Linked DNA regions of Homo sapiens: region 1 is linked to region 2. The links are contacts of gene promoters, found by promoter capture Hi-C in blood cells and fetal thymus (Javierre and others, 2016). All regions are on one chromosome and are shown on one strand. The core of a region is centred on a gene start or on the middle of the fragment in contact, and the rest is flanking DNA. Distances in the headings are between cores, read along the strand shown. Region 1 holds the start of ADAMTS7 (ADAM metallopeptidase with thrombospondin type 1 motif 7). Region 2 holds the start of DNAJA4-DT (DNAJA4 divergent transcript).

What was found. The method cuts DNA at HindIII sites, captures the fragments that hold promoters and counts their contacts. A CHiCAGO score of 5 or more calls a contact.
Region 1: the fragment with the promoter of ADAMTS7 here is called in contact with the fragment with the promoter of DNAJA4-DT in region 2 in 1 of 17 cell types (M0 macrophages); the score reaches 5.8 in M0 macrophages.

What each region holds. Positions count from the first base shown.
Region 1 is chr15:78,805,870-78,812,713 of GRCh38, reverse strand. It overlaps ADAMTS7 (ADAM metallopeptidase with thrombospondin type 1 motif 7), which reads left to right and starts at 1,250. Exons shown (of 24, transcript NM_014272.5): 1 at 1,250-1,593. The coding sequence starts at 1,494. RefSeq lists a silencer at 803-1,222. The HindIII fragment of the contact is 7,795 bases long and covers 1-5,406 here.
Region 2 is chr15:78,259,635-78,266,653 of GRCh38, reverse strand. DNAJA4-DT (DNAJA4 divergent transcript) reads left to right here and starts at 2,510. Exons shown (of 4, transcript XR_001751621.1): 1 at 2,510-2,597; 2 at 2,697-2,782. It overlaps DNAJA4 (DnaJ heat shock protein family (Hsp40) member A4), which reads right to left and starts at 2,092. Exons shown (of 7, transcript NM_001130182.2): 1 at 1,759-2,092. The coding sequence starts at 1,890. RefSeq lists silencers at 1,559-1,848, 2,159-2,238. The HindIII fragment of the contact is 6,233 bases long and covers 2,143-7,019 here.

The DNA of each region.
Region 1 (6,844 bases), core at 1-2,500, 550 kb before region 2:
GAAGTAGGTGAAGCCAGGAGGGGCTGGTAGGTTGGGCGAAGAGGAAGGTATCAAGGGACTGGAGGAAGAGCAATACATAGTGGGACTGTGAAGGTGGAAAGGACTGCAGAGTCGGGTCTGACAGGGGGGCACCTGAGCTTCGGATTTCCAAGATGGAGCAGTTCTGAGGGATGACACAGCCCAGGCTTTGGCCCTGAGACCTGATGGCTGAGGTGGAGTGGAAGGTCACTGGAGATGAGATGGAGGAAGTAGGTGACCCTGTACTACACAAATTCCCTAGAGGACAGACAGGTTGAGGGTGGAGAGGAAGCCAGAAGTGAGCTTCCAGGAATTGAATGAAAGGGCCCAGGAGATTGGACAATGAGGAGGTGTGCGGGCCTCAGAGGGCAGGGGGCACACAAAGACTAACCAAGGGGAGGAAGCTGACCGCAACCGCCCCGAGGACAAGACGGGCGTCCTCGGTACAGGGCCATGTTTAGTGACGGCAGAAGGGAGAAAGGAAGCTCCTGGGAGCACAGGGGGAAGGGGAGCCGGAAGCCAGAGCCAGGGCTGGGGCCACGAAGGACAGACGGCCGGTGTTGGAGGCGGAGGCTGGCCTGGGATGTGAGGCTGGGGTTGGCCGGCCTCCAGGCTCCCCGGGAGCCCCTGCTGAAAGTCTGTGGGCGCTGGCCTGGGCGAAGCCGCGGTCCCCCGCCTGTGGGCTCAACTCTGCGCTCTGCTTCAAGCAAACGCACTAGGAGAGGAGTCAGGAGACGAGGAACTGCGGGGCCCCACCTCGCGCGGGCAACCGCTGTCTGTCCAGGGAGGGCCCAGGCCTGTCTCCGCAGATAGCTTTGAAGCAGGGCCCCCGGTGTGGCCCTCTGGAGGCCTCCCGCGTCCCCTTTTGAGGGGCTGCCCTGCTTGGCCTGGGGAACACAGCGAAGGGCACCTCGTGGAGCCCAATTTAGGGACAACACATTAATTCTGGAAATTCCAGATTCTTTCCGGGGGTCCTCAACCGGCCGGGGTCGGAAAGGCCTGGCAGGGCTCCGCCGGCAGGGGGCGCTCGGGACAGGGGGGCGAGGGGGGCGGACATCCGTTGCGGGGCGCTGCCTGCGCCGGGCCGGCCAGCCCTTGAGGCGAGCACGGCCTGCGGGGCCGATGAGGCCGGGGCCGGCCGGGGCGGGGCGGGGCCAGGGGCGGGGGAAGGAGTCCGAGGGGCGGGGCGGGGGCCGGCAGCCGCCCTCCCTCACTCTCCCTCCCTTTCTTTCTTTCTTTCTTTCTCTCCTTCTAGCTCTCTTGTCTTTTCTTTGCCTCTGCAGCGGCCAAGGGGGCGGGCCCTGCAGCCTTTGTTGCCCGCGGACCGAGCGCAGCCGAACGGAGTCGGGGCCGGGTCGCCGGGAGCTGCACGCCGGCCGGGCATGTCCTGAGCCGGACCTGGGACCAGGCAGCGACCGGACGGGACGGACGAGAGCGTGCGCGCGGGGTCACCCGGCGGCCGCCCGGTTCCTGCCATGCCCGGCGGCCCCAGTCCCCGCAGCCCCGCGCCTTTGCTGCGCCCCCTCCTCCTGCTCCTCTGCGCTCTGGCTCCCGGCGCCCCCGGACCCGCACCAGGTGGGTGTCCGCCCCTCCCCGGCCAGCCGGGCCTGCCACCCCTTCCCGCTCCCCCAGTCTCGGTTTTGTCCCTCCTCACCTTTGTGGACCCCGCGCCGGCTCCGCTGTGCCTGGAGTTGGTCGCGTCTTCCGCTCCCTGGGTATTAGGGGACAGTAGTCGGGGTCGGGCCGGGCCGGGAGCGAAGCCGCGCTTCTGGGGAAACTTCCTCGGCCCCTGATTCAGTTACTGACACTGCCTGTCGCCTGGAATAAGCCCCTTCCGCTCTTCGGGCTCCGGTTTCCCCACCTCGGGTGCAGCAACGCGCCTGGCTCCCGGGAGAGCTCTCGTCCGAGTGGGCTGGACGGAGCGCGGTTTACCCACTGAGGATTTGGTTTCTCACACTCCTTAGCGAGGCTCGCCTGGAAAGCGGGCTGGCCGGGACACAGCCGGCGAGGGCGCCAGGTCGCAGGTCTTCGCGGGACCCCGCCGCCCCCCCAGCTCCCGCCCACCGCATCTGGGCTGCTGGCGCGGCCCCTGGCGGCTCGGGGGGCCGGGTCTTGCGCGGTCCTTGCACTTCCTGCCTCTCCCTTCCCCAAGTGTGAAGACGCCGGGAGTGGAGCGGGGAGCAGGAGCTTCTTTTCCCGGCCATGGGTTAACTCTCCCCGCCCCGCCGGGCCGGCCTCCGACGAGCCTCTGGCCTGCGTCCAGACTCTTGTTTGGCGGCGACCTGCCGGGCGGCCGCGCTGCTGGCGCGTCCGACGCAGCCGGCCTGGGAATTCAGTAACCGAGGATGTAGGAGACCCCAGGCCCGGTGCTCAGGGAGCTCCCAGTCAGGGGAGCCGGTGGATAGTGGGGAGAGTCCTGCAATAGAGCCGACCGGCAGGCTTTGTAGGAGAGGAGGGGCATGAGGTTGGAGAGACTGGAAGGATGGATGGATTCTGGATGAGCTAGAAGGGCGTGGAGGGAGTGGGGCCCTCCCCTGGGGAGCATCAGTCGGGGGACTGGATTAGGGTTGCTTGCTGGGATGGGGTCGACCTGCCTCCCCACTGGAGGGATTGTGACGAGAAAGTAGTCTGGGCGGGAAGGATGGGGACATTGACTCTTGATCTTAGAGGTTTGGGAAGCCGTTGAGGGGAGCAGCTGATGAAAGCAGTGTTTTGGAAAGATTTGGTCTAGCAGCCATGCGCAGAGCGCAGAGGGAGCGAACATTTAATGAGCACCTACTGTGTGCCAGCCTCACGGGTTCTTATTTCTCATCATCTCCACAACAACCGTGCAAAGCAAGTGATGGAAAGTCCTTTTATGGACCAGCAAACAGGCTCAGAGTAGAGCGACCTGTGGGGTTGGACTCCTGAGCTTCCTGAATGAGGCTTGTGTTTTCCACTGTCCAGAGCTGGGGGCTGAGGAGGATGAACCGGGCGATGGGAATGGGAGAGCAGGAAAATGCTTCCCTCAGGACTTGGGTCCTGGCCCCCTGGCAGCTGTGGGAAGAGTTGGGTGCGGTCAACCTCGTGGGATTCTTATGAGGATTAAATGAGATATTGAATATGTCAGTTGCTCAGGCAGGACACAGTGACTACAATGTAGTGGTCATTATTTTTATTAATCTGCCAGGCCGACCCAGGACTCCCCAGATGACCTGGACCTGCTGTTTGAGGGTGGAGGCAGGCCAGGCACTCTCTCCAACCTAATCTGGGCACAAACACTCCAAGGGTGAAGTCTGTCTCTAGTGTTCCCATAGATATAGAGCATGGGGTCCTTCCTGTTCTGCACTCCCTCAGGATTGGTGACTCTGAGGCTGCTGGCCTGTTTGTCATTTTCTTTGAAGCCCAGGACCTAAGCCTGGGGCTCCTCCTACCACTGAATGTTACCTTCTTTAAGACCAAAGGGCTCATCCTGGGCTCACTTTTAGGAAAATATATCCCTTTTCCCCACTTGTGACTGACCCAGGGACCTGCTAGGGTTTCTGAGGCTGGAGCCCAGTCATGTGTCCTCCTCATGCCGTATGGCACATGTGAACTCTGTGTGCATGTGTTTCTGTGCATACTAGAACTCACAGAGGAGGGCATTCACATACTACCCCCCACCCTGCCAGTTATTTTTCCTCCTTGGCATGAGCTGTGGGTCATTTGAAGGGCTGGATTGTAACTCAGGTTCTTGATAGGGAGGTGAGGGTAAACACCATCTTGGCATTTCTTTGGTAGAAGCTCCAAAGTGACAGTTCTGTCACCCAGGGGAGATATTAAAAGTATTTAACACCCAATGTGGCAGGAGCTTGGTCCAATCAGAACAGACCTCCTGACTTGGCAGAATAGATTTGGCCATGAATCTCTGGCAGTCCTCTTGAATGGTGCCTGTTGCCATCCCACTGTCACTTGAACTCTGCAGGCTCAGCTTTGTTGCAAGCACATAACCGGTCGAGACTGGAACCTGCAATTACTCCTTGCTGGCACTGGGTGGTGCTAGTTTCAGCCACCAACATCTCTACTGAGTGAGGTCAACTAGGCTACAGTGAAAGTTACTTATTTTTAAACTTACCCCTGCACTTTTTAAAAATATTTTAATGGCAAAACAATACAAGTTCACTATAAAAAAAGGTAATGCTGGCGGGCTGCAGTGGCTCATGCTTGTAATCCCAGCACTTTGGGAAGCTGAGGCTGGCGGATCACTTGAGGCCAGGAGTTCGAAACCAGCCTGGCCAACATGGTGAAACTCCATCTCTATTAAAATACAAAAATTAGCTGGACATGGTGGTGCATGCCTGTAATCCCAGCTCCTCGGAAGGCTGAGGCATGAGAATTGCTTGAACCCAGGAGGCAGAGGTTGCGGTGAGCCGAGATCGCACCACTGCATTCTAGCCTGGGTGACACAGGGAGACTGTCTCAAAAGAAAAAATCTGAACAAAACAAGAAAAAAATTATTGCAATAAAAGTGGCAACATCCTGTAAGTCTATTCTTTTATTGTTGATTGAAAAACATGTTTTAGACCAGACACAGTGATTCACACCTGTAATTCCAGCACTTTGGGAGGCCAAGGTAGGCAGATCGTTTGAGCCCAGAAATTCAAGACCAGCCTGGGCAGCATAATGAGACCCCATCTCTACAAAAAAATTTAAAAATTATCCAGGCCTGGTAGTCCACGCCTGTAGTCCCAGCTATTTGGGAGGCTGAGGTGGGAGGATTGCATGAGCCCAGGAGGTCAAGGCTGCAGTAAACCACGATCGCATCACTGCACTCCAGCCTGGGAGATCTCAGAAAAAAAAAAAAGAAATAAATAAATAAAAACATGTTTTTTGTTTTGTTTTGTTTTGTTTGTTTTTAAGCCATTAGGCAAACAGATAAAACAACAAGTTTTTAAAAGAAAAAGCTAAATATACTTTAGAAGTTCTCTTGCTAATTTTCAGTCATAACTTAGCTCACATTTGCTATGTGCCAGCTGTTGTTATAAGCACTTACATACTAACTCATTTAATTCTTACACAACCAAAGAGAGCAGCTGTAATTATTATCATCCCCATTTTACAGATGGAGAAACTGAGATTCTGAGTGGTTGAGTAATTTACCCATGGTCTCACAGATATGGGTAGCAGAGCTGGGATTCAAACACAGCCTCTCTGGCTCTAGAGCTCACTAATCCGAATGCTTTTCACCTGCGGCATAGCTCTACTTAGCCCTGTCCACATTTTTGAACTTAATAGGATGCTTCTTTGTAAGTCATCTGGAATTTCTGTCTTGCAATATTTGCCCAGGATCTACAGCAGGTATTCTCAACAGGACTGTACATCCGCTGGGGCATGGGTTCTTCCCCAGAGATACTTTATTTTTTTTAAGCTTTTGGGGCCTTTTCTCCCCAGTGGTTGATTCCTCAGTTACATACCTGCTTCCATTCCCCAACCACATGCATTTGAGGACAAAACTTGCCTAAAAGAGTGTCATGTAGCTCCCCCAGTTGAGAATTTTAGAGCTGGTTGGCATCAGTGCCCCCCTGACCTTCAGCTCATCTTTAGCTGCCTTGGCTGGGATTGTCCTTGCCCTGGGAACCAACGTTAATACTCACTTAAAACAAGTGTTGGAGGGTGGGCATGGTGGCCCATGCCTGTAATCCCAGTACTTTGGGAGGCTGAGGCGGGTGGATCACCTGAGGTCAGGAGTTCGAGACCAGCCTGGCCAACATGGCGAAACTCTACCTCTACTAAAAATACAAAAATTAGTTGGGCATGGTGGCTTGCACCTGTAATTACAGCTACTTGGGAGGCTGAGGCAGGAGAATTGCTTGAACCCAGCAGCCGGAGGTTGCAGTGAGCCAAGATCATGCAATTGTACTCCAGCCTGGGGGACAAGAACGAAACTCTCTCTCAAAAAAACAAAAACATAAACAAAACAAAACAAAAACAAGCCTTGGAGTTGTAGCCTCCACGAACTGTGATCCTTGGGAAAGTTAGGAAATCTCCCACTGCGAGTGAACCTGGGAAGTAGTTCTTCCCTATCTCTGTCATTTTCGTCTCCTTGACCTGGGCTCCCTTCCTTACGTTTTCTGGCCTGGATTCTCCAAGCAGATGAGGAAACAAACCCAGAGATATGCAGTGACTCAGATTATACAACTATTAAGTGGCCCACTTGGGCCTGCCCTGGGTCTTGTTACTTTCAAAGCCCATGCTCTATAGTGCATTATTTTGTCCCTCCATTGCCTCCCATTTTACAAAACACATGCCTGGACCAAGATTAAACTTCTTGTTGCCCTTTCTTACTTCTGGCTTTTCCCCACTTCTCTGAGGGTTTACCACACAGTGCCCCTACCACCATGAGGCCCTTCTTGTCTTCACTGTTGAATTAACATATGTTAAGGGACATCTCAAATGCATCCTCCTTGATGAAACTTTTCTTCATTCCAATGCATCCATAAGGTGTCATCCTTTCCCCTTGCTTGGACCTTGTCAGCACTGTGCCAGAGTGGGGGTCTTGGGTCTACTGCACCCATTTTTCTGTTTTTTTTTTTTTTTTTTTTTTTTTTTTGTGTGTGTGTGTGTGTGTGTGTGTGTGTGTGTGTGTTTTTGGGGGGGGGAGTCAGAGTCTCGCTCTGTCATCCAGGCTGGAGTACAGTGGTACAATTTCTGCTCACTGCAACCTCCGCCTCCCAGGCTCAAGTAATCCTCCCACCTCAGCCTCCGGAGTAGCTGAGACTATAGGCATACACCACCATGCCTGGCTAATTTTTGTATTTTTGTAGAGATGGGATTTCACCATGTTGCCCAGGCTGGTCTCGAACTCCTG
Region 2 (7,019 bases), core at 1,261-3,760:
ATGAGGCAGAGGCAGCCTCCTGGAAGATGTTTTAGCTGAGAACTAAAGAGTTTTATCCCCTTCCATGAAGGTAGAGGAAGGAAAGTATTCCTGGCAATGGGCACATCACAGAACCCTTCCCTCCAAGCTGATGGGCCTGCCAGACCTCACTGCCAAGGGCCTCATTTATGTGACACTAACTCAGTGCCTGGCTATGAATAAATATTAGTTTAAAACAAACCAAACAACCTGCCCAGACAGGTATAGACAGGGTGAAACCTACACATATGTAGTACAGGTCAAGTCTAATTTTTTAAAAATAAAAGCTTCAGAACAAAAGCATATTCAGCTCTAACTGTATACACAGAGGCATGAACTTACTCTTGTGAGTGCTGAGATTTGACCTGAATCCAGGGTCAGGCTTTCCCACATGTCTTTAGCCAGCTTGCTGAAATGTGAAATTAGAAGCCTACAAGCTCTCCTTAAAGGAGACTGTCAGAAGCGGACCACAATGAATGTAGGGAGCAGGTGGATGAATCACCAGCACCATGTAAAACGCCAGTGCCTTTAAAAGCTACAGTAAGCCATCTAAATATAGATGAGAAAGAACGCAAGTGAGTAACAGACAAATGGTCTTACAGGAAAGCATTTTAAACTTGTGACAGCCACATTCAGCACATGTGGCTAAATATAAATATTCCATCACTGTTGCCATTCAGCCAACCGTCCTGAAGTAGCTTTCTCCAGCTTGGAACAACTAACACAGACAGGTATTTTGATTCCAGCGTCGTTTCCACAGGTCTTAAATGCTACATGGGTGATTGGTGTGGTTTCAAACGTGGCCCAAGTGACACTGCTATCAGCTACTATAACGGCCCCACCTCTCAAGACCCATGCGGAACAACCAAAGTTTTGTAAGAAAATGGCAAGAAGTGAAAGGAGGAACGGGAGGGTTAGCAGCCTTTCCTTGCAATGCCTCATCCTTCAATTCACCTATTCAGGTGGGTCATGAGCCTCTTTAGAGATAAAAAGCAAACTTTCTGTAAACAGGATGGAAAAGCTTTTAACTTCTGTCTCTAAAATGCAGAGCATTTTCAGTCTATGATTGGTACTTATGATCAACTGTGTGTCACTTGTCACCGAAAACCCAGAATATGAGTACAAGCTGATGTCAGGTTGCAGATGTCCGTGTCCCTGTTTAATAAAGAAAATGGGATTATTCACTATCTGACGCTTTTATCAGGTAGGCAGTAGGTGCACAGAACAAATCCAGCTAGTCATTCTCAAGAGAGGCACGGCGTTTGTCCAAGGTACCAGCTCAGATTAAAGACACTCATCCCTAGGGTTTATGCATCAACAGAGAATATGAGCCAGTCGTTCCCAGCAAGTAAACAACTGTTTGTGTGTGCCTCAGTTTCCCGATTCCCAGGCCGCCTCTCCCACAGGGAACCAACACACCCTATGAGAACTAGTCCGGCGCGCACGGCAGGGGCTACCCAAACACTTGTGGAGCGAATGGAGGAATGAATGGGCTCGGCAGGGACTCGCGAGGGACCCAAGTGCCGCACCACATGCCTCCTCCGCGGGCGAAGCGCCCTCCACCGACCGCGCCGCACGGCGCCCAGGGTCTCCCGCCACCTCTGCCCGGCCTGGCCCCGAGGCGCCTGGCGACAGCCTCCCCAACAAACGCGGCTCAGGTTTCCCGTCGCCTTCAATGCTCCTGGCTTAATAACCCTTGGCCCCTCGGGAGCCCGGCCCGTGCCCCGCGCCGCCCCGCACCTTCTCGCCCTCATCCGGGTTCTTGTCCGGGTGGTACTTGAGCGCCAGCTTCCGATAGGCCTTCTTGATCTCCTCCGGGGACGCGCTGGGCTTCACGCCCAGGATGTCATAGTACTGGGTCTCCTTCACCATCTTGTGTCTGCGGGGGGGGCGGGCGAGGCCGGTCAGAGCGCCCCGGACGCCCCTGCCGGCACCCTGGCCCGCGCCCCTGGCCCGCGCCCCCGCCGCCCGCTCGCGCGTCACGGTCACGGTCGCCGCCGCCGCCGCCGCTTGTAGCTCCCGCCCGCCCCCCGCCCCGCGCCGGACCGACTTCCACGCCTGGCTCCACCGCACTAGAGCCACCGGCTCCTCCGCGGCGGGTTTTATTCGGCGCCGGCGGAAGCTTCCGCAAGGAGACGGTGACGCCACAAAGGCCTAGAACCTTCGCGGAGGTTCCGGCGGCCCCGCGGCGGGTTCGCGGCCCAGACCCCCGACGCCCGTCCGGCGCGGCCCAGCCGCTCACCTGGGCTTCTCGGGCGTCTGCTCCTTTGGCTGCCCGTCTGATTCCCCGGAGCTCCAGCTCTGACTGCCGCCCCGGGCCATGGCGGGGGCCGGAGAAGGCGGCTTGGGCCTGGAGGGCGCCCTCCGACAACTGTCCCGCCGCCCCGAGGCCGCCCCCTTGCCCTTCCGTGGGTCCGTGGAGCCGGCTGGCTGGAGAGTAGGCGGCCTGGAGGGCTGTGTTGGCCGGAGCCCTGCGCCGAAGGGTGGGACTGGGAGAGCTGCGCCCTGCGGTCCCCACCCGGCCTCTCCCCGGGGGTGTGGCCGCCGTCTGTTCGGTCACAGCCAGGCTGCGGCCTAAGGTGTGCCTGGGATTGTTGCATTTTTTAGGGGGTTGGAGTGGGTAGGGGCCCTCTGCTGCCTCATGACTGCAAGGCTGAGGTGAACCTCTGGCCTTCCAGTTGAGGTACAGGGGTCCTTTGCTGGCCCCAGATGTGGACAGTATCCTCTCGAATGCCCACCACTGGGAACCCTTAAGTCCCTCAAGGTGAGCAGTGACGTCCCCCACATATGGGCAGTGACGCCCCCCAAGTCTGCCAAGGGCCGACAGTGCCCTCTCTTCTCCCAGAAGTGGGAAACTGCCCCCTCTCCTCTGCACATCATCAGTGAGCAAACATCAGGGCCCGACCAGGCTGTTGGGCCCAGTGTTATGCACAGGGGGTCCCATGGCCTGGACCCTGAAACGGCTAGGTGGCCCAGGATGCTTGCCTTGGAAGGGTACAGGAGTAGGTCCCGACTTCCCTAGGCTGCCCCCAGCTCCCAACGGGTGCTCAGGGAGTCCAGATCACAAACCGTTGCAGAAAAGTGGGCGTGGAAAGCAGGCCCCAACGCTATCACAGAATTGCAGGCCCCTGTCCCCTAGCCCTCCCTTGGCTTCTGCCAGGGGAACAGTTTGTCAGAAAGGGGGGTCACTGCTCACCTCCCTGGGATGCCCTGGCCTTGTTTTGGGTACTGTGGCTGAAGCAGGTACTACCTCTCCTCCATGTGTTCCATGGGGGTGAGAAGTGACTTGTACTGTACAAGAGAAATTAAGCTGCTCTTCTTGGAGATGTTGCTTTTTTTTTTTTTAAATTATGCCTTGTAGAGCAGAACCTTTAGGCAGAGAACTCAGAGCTAGAGGTCAGAAACTTTGTTTTCTATCCAGATCTTACTGTCTGAGCCTTAGCATCTCAACACTTTTCTTCGTCAGCAGGACATGGGGATTGCCACTTGCCTGCCTTTCTCACAGGGCTCTTATAAGCATCAAATGGGATGATAACTGTGAAGACTCCTAGCGCAGTGGGTCTCAAACCTGGCTCCTGACAGAGATCACCTGGAATCTTCTAAAAATCCCTCTGGGTTGCACTCCACACCTGTTACCTTAGAGCTTCTAGGGGTGAGGCCCAGGCATCAGTGTTTTTCAAGCTCCCCAGGTGGTACAGCCAGAGCCGAGATCCACTGCCCAGGGTCACATACTTGTCCAGATTTAGTACTCGGGACCATAGGCATTCGTAAAATGGGCATGTGCAGGAGAGGGATGGCTTAAAGACAGAGCCTAGAAACATAGAATGGAGCTATGCACTTTGGACGACAGTGAATTCTGGAACCAGTGAGACTTAGACCTAGGTTCAAATCCCAGCACTGCTACTTCTGGCTGTGGAACCTTGGGCAGACAACTTAACCTTTCTGAGCCTCAGTTTTCTTAACCTTTTAATGAGGATATTAATTATAACTACTTCATAACTTTGTGAAACACCTGGTATATAGTCACAATATTGATGCTTTTTGGGGGTGGGGGGGTGCGGGCAGGGGCTAAGGTATAGAAGCTGATAGTGATTCTCTTCTTGATGGAACTTAGCCAGGCTCCTATGAGCCCTCTTCTCAACTAGGCTTCAGTCTTGGCCTATAAAGACTGAACAGACAGCAACACAGTTTCTAATAATTCAACGTCACATCCTTAAGATCACCAGTTCCCAGGCTTTTTGGCACCAGAGACCAGTTTCATGGAAGACGATTTTGTCACGGACAGGGTGGTGGGGGTGGGCAATAATTCTATGATGAAGGCCTGGCGTGGTGGCTCACACCTGTAATCCCAGCACTTTGGGACGCCGAGGTGGGCAGATCACTTGAGGCCACGAGTTCAAGACCAGTCTGGCCAACTTGGTGAAACTCCATCTCTACTAAAAATACAAAAATTAGCCAGGGATGGTGGTGCTCGCCTGTAATCCCAGCTACTCAGGAGGCTGAGGCACAAGAATCGCTTGAACCCGGGAGGCAGAGGCTGCAGTGAGCTGAGATCACACCACTGCACTCCAGCCTGGGTGACAGAGCAAGACTCTGTCTCAAAAAATAAAAAATAAATAACAATAGGATTGTCTAGTAAAATCAGATATTTTTGGCCAGGTGTGGTGGCTCAGGCCTGTAATCCCAGCACTTTGGGAGGTCGAAGTGGGCAGATCACTTGAGCTCAAGAGTTTGAGACCAGCCTGGCCAACATGGTGAAACCCCGTCTCTACTAAAAATACAAAAATTAGCCAGGTGTGGTGGCACGTGCCTGTAATCCCAGCTACTCAGGAGGCTGAAATAGGAGAATCACTTAAACCCGGGAGGCAGAGGTTGCAGTGAGCTGAGACTGTGCTACTGCATGCCAGCCTGGGCAACAGAGAAAGACTCTATCTCAAAAAAGAAAAAAAAATGGAGGATGAAACTGTTCCACCTTAGATCATCAGGCGTTAGATTCTTATAAGGAGCATGCAACCTAGATCCCCCGCATGCACAGTTCACAGCAGATTTCAAGCTCCTGTGAGAATCTAATGCCACTGCTTGGTTCCTGACAGGCCACAGACCAGTACTGGTCCGCAGCCTAGGAGTTGGGGGCCCCTACCTAAGGTGACCCTGGCCCCACTACCCCCTCTTAAAGTGCCTGCCTGAGAAAACTCAAGGCTGCCAAAATATTTACTGTGTTTTTGTTTCATCCAACACCTGAGGATAGAGCTTCTGTCTCCCAGTCTCTTTGGGAGAACGGCATCCTAACTTTGGCAATTGGCAGCTAGCAGACACAGCTGGCCTAATGTCACTTACACTGACCAACCCTTTGTCATTTTTCACTTCCCTGATTCTGTTAAACTGCTGCTTGTCCTTCTCCCTATTCCCTCATGTTCTTTTCAAAATGCCCAATTACTTTTCGTACAAATCGATATTGAGCTCAGTTCATACTAGATTGTTTTCCCTATTGCAATAGTTATGACTGATTAAATTCTGTCCTTACAATTTTAACTACTGTTCAGCTTTGTTTATCTTAGACAAAGCCTCTGACAATCTAGTAGATTATTTCCCAGAATTATGCTTGGGAGGATTGGAGGCATTACACAGACATTTCTTATTTTGTCAGTTATGTGTTTATTTTCATGATGACCTTTTCATTACTGCAACTTTTATTAAAAGTGACACTGACTTTCCACTCACAGTAAGCAATGTATGGTTTCCTTTTTATATTCTTTTAAAAAAGAGTAGATAAATAGTAAGTGTATGATAGTACCTGTAGTACAAGAATAAAGCAACAGTGGTGATACTTGAATGACAGAAATTTGGGAAATGCTGATCCAGTTCTACCATCTCATTCTACAGTTGGGGAGACTTTTAGACAAAGAAGCCACATTATACAGAACAGCCATTGTCCCTTGATGCAGTGTGGGGCTTCCTTTCTGACCCAGTGTAGAAGGAGAGTCAAAGCAAGCACGGAAGTAGGTTTTACCCAAGGAATGCTGGGATGGGGTCTTCAAGGAGTCTTCTGAGAGGGAGAAGCCACACCTACCTGGGGAGGGGGGTCAGGAAGGACTTCATGGACGAGGGACATGTGCCATAGACCAGGAAGTTAGAGCTCCCTTTAGCAGCAGGGAAAGGGAGGGCAGCCATGCTGAACGGACAGCAGGATAAAGGCAGAGAGCACAGATGGATGAAGGCTCTGAATTGGAAGGGAAGCAGGGACAGGTGTGCTAGAGCCTTGAATGCCTTGAGGAGCAGTTTGCTGCTCTCCTGGGCCCTGGGGAGCCATTGAAGGTTTCAGAGCAGGACCTGCGTTCTGAGAGGTGTAACTAGCAGCAGACCCCGGGGGCTGGGTGGATCTGGACCTCCTGGGAGAGGCCCAAGCTGGGCATGCCGGTTTGTAGAGGCAAGCCCAGAGAGAGGGCATAGAAGGAGAAAGAGAGCTCCAAGGAAAAGCGTTGGGGAGCGCCTGTCTTTAGGAAGTGGAAGGAGCAACAGCCATCGGAGAAGCAAGAGGAGAACCCAGAAAGCAGAGAGGACCAAAATCATGCAAGGCCAGAGCAGCGAGGGGTAGAGGAGACAGTGCCTGGGTGGCAGAGAGGCTGGGAATGGGGGGGACCAGTACTTCAAGGGGAGGACATTAATTTATTGGCCCCCGAAACAGCAGTTGTCATTTCAGGCCATTGTTTTAATATTGGGAGGGATTTCCACTTGGAGAGGCCTTGCCCCTCACTGGCTGTGTGACCCTGGGCAAATTAGCTTTCTCTGAACATCCATTTCCTCCTTTGCAAAATGGGGATAAGAACATCTGCTTCACAGAATTATTGTACAGATGAATGGAGACAATGTGTAAAGGGCTTACCATGTGCAGAAAGCACGTGTTCTCACGATGAAATTTATTGATTTCATCACAACAGGATTTGTGCACAGCAGCTATGTGTCTGGCTCTGTGCTGGGAACCAACAATACAGCACTAGATT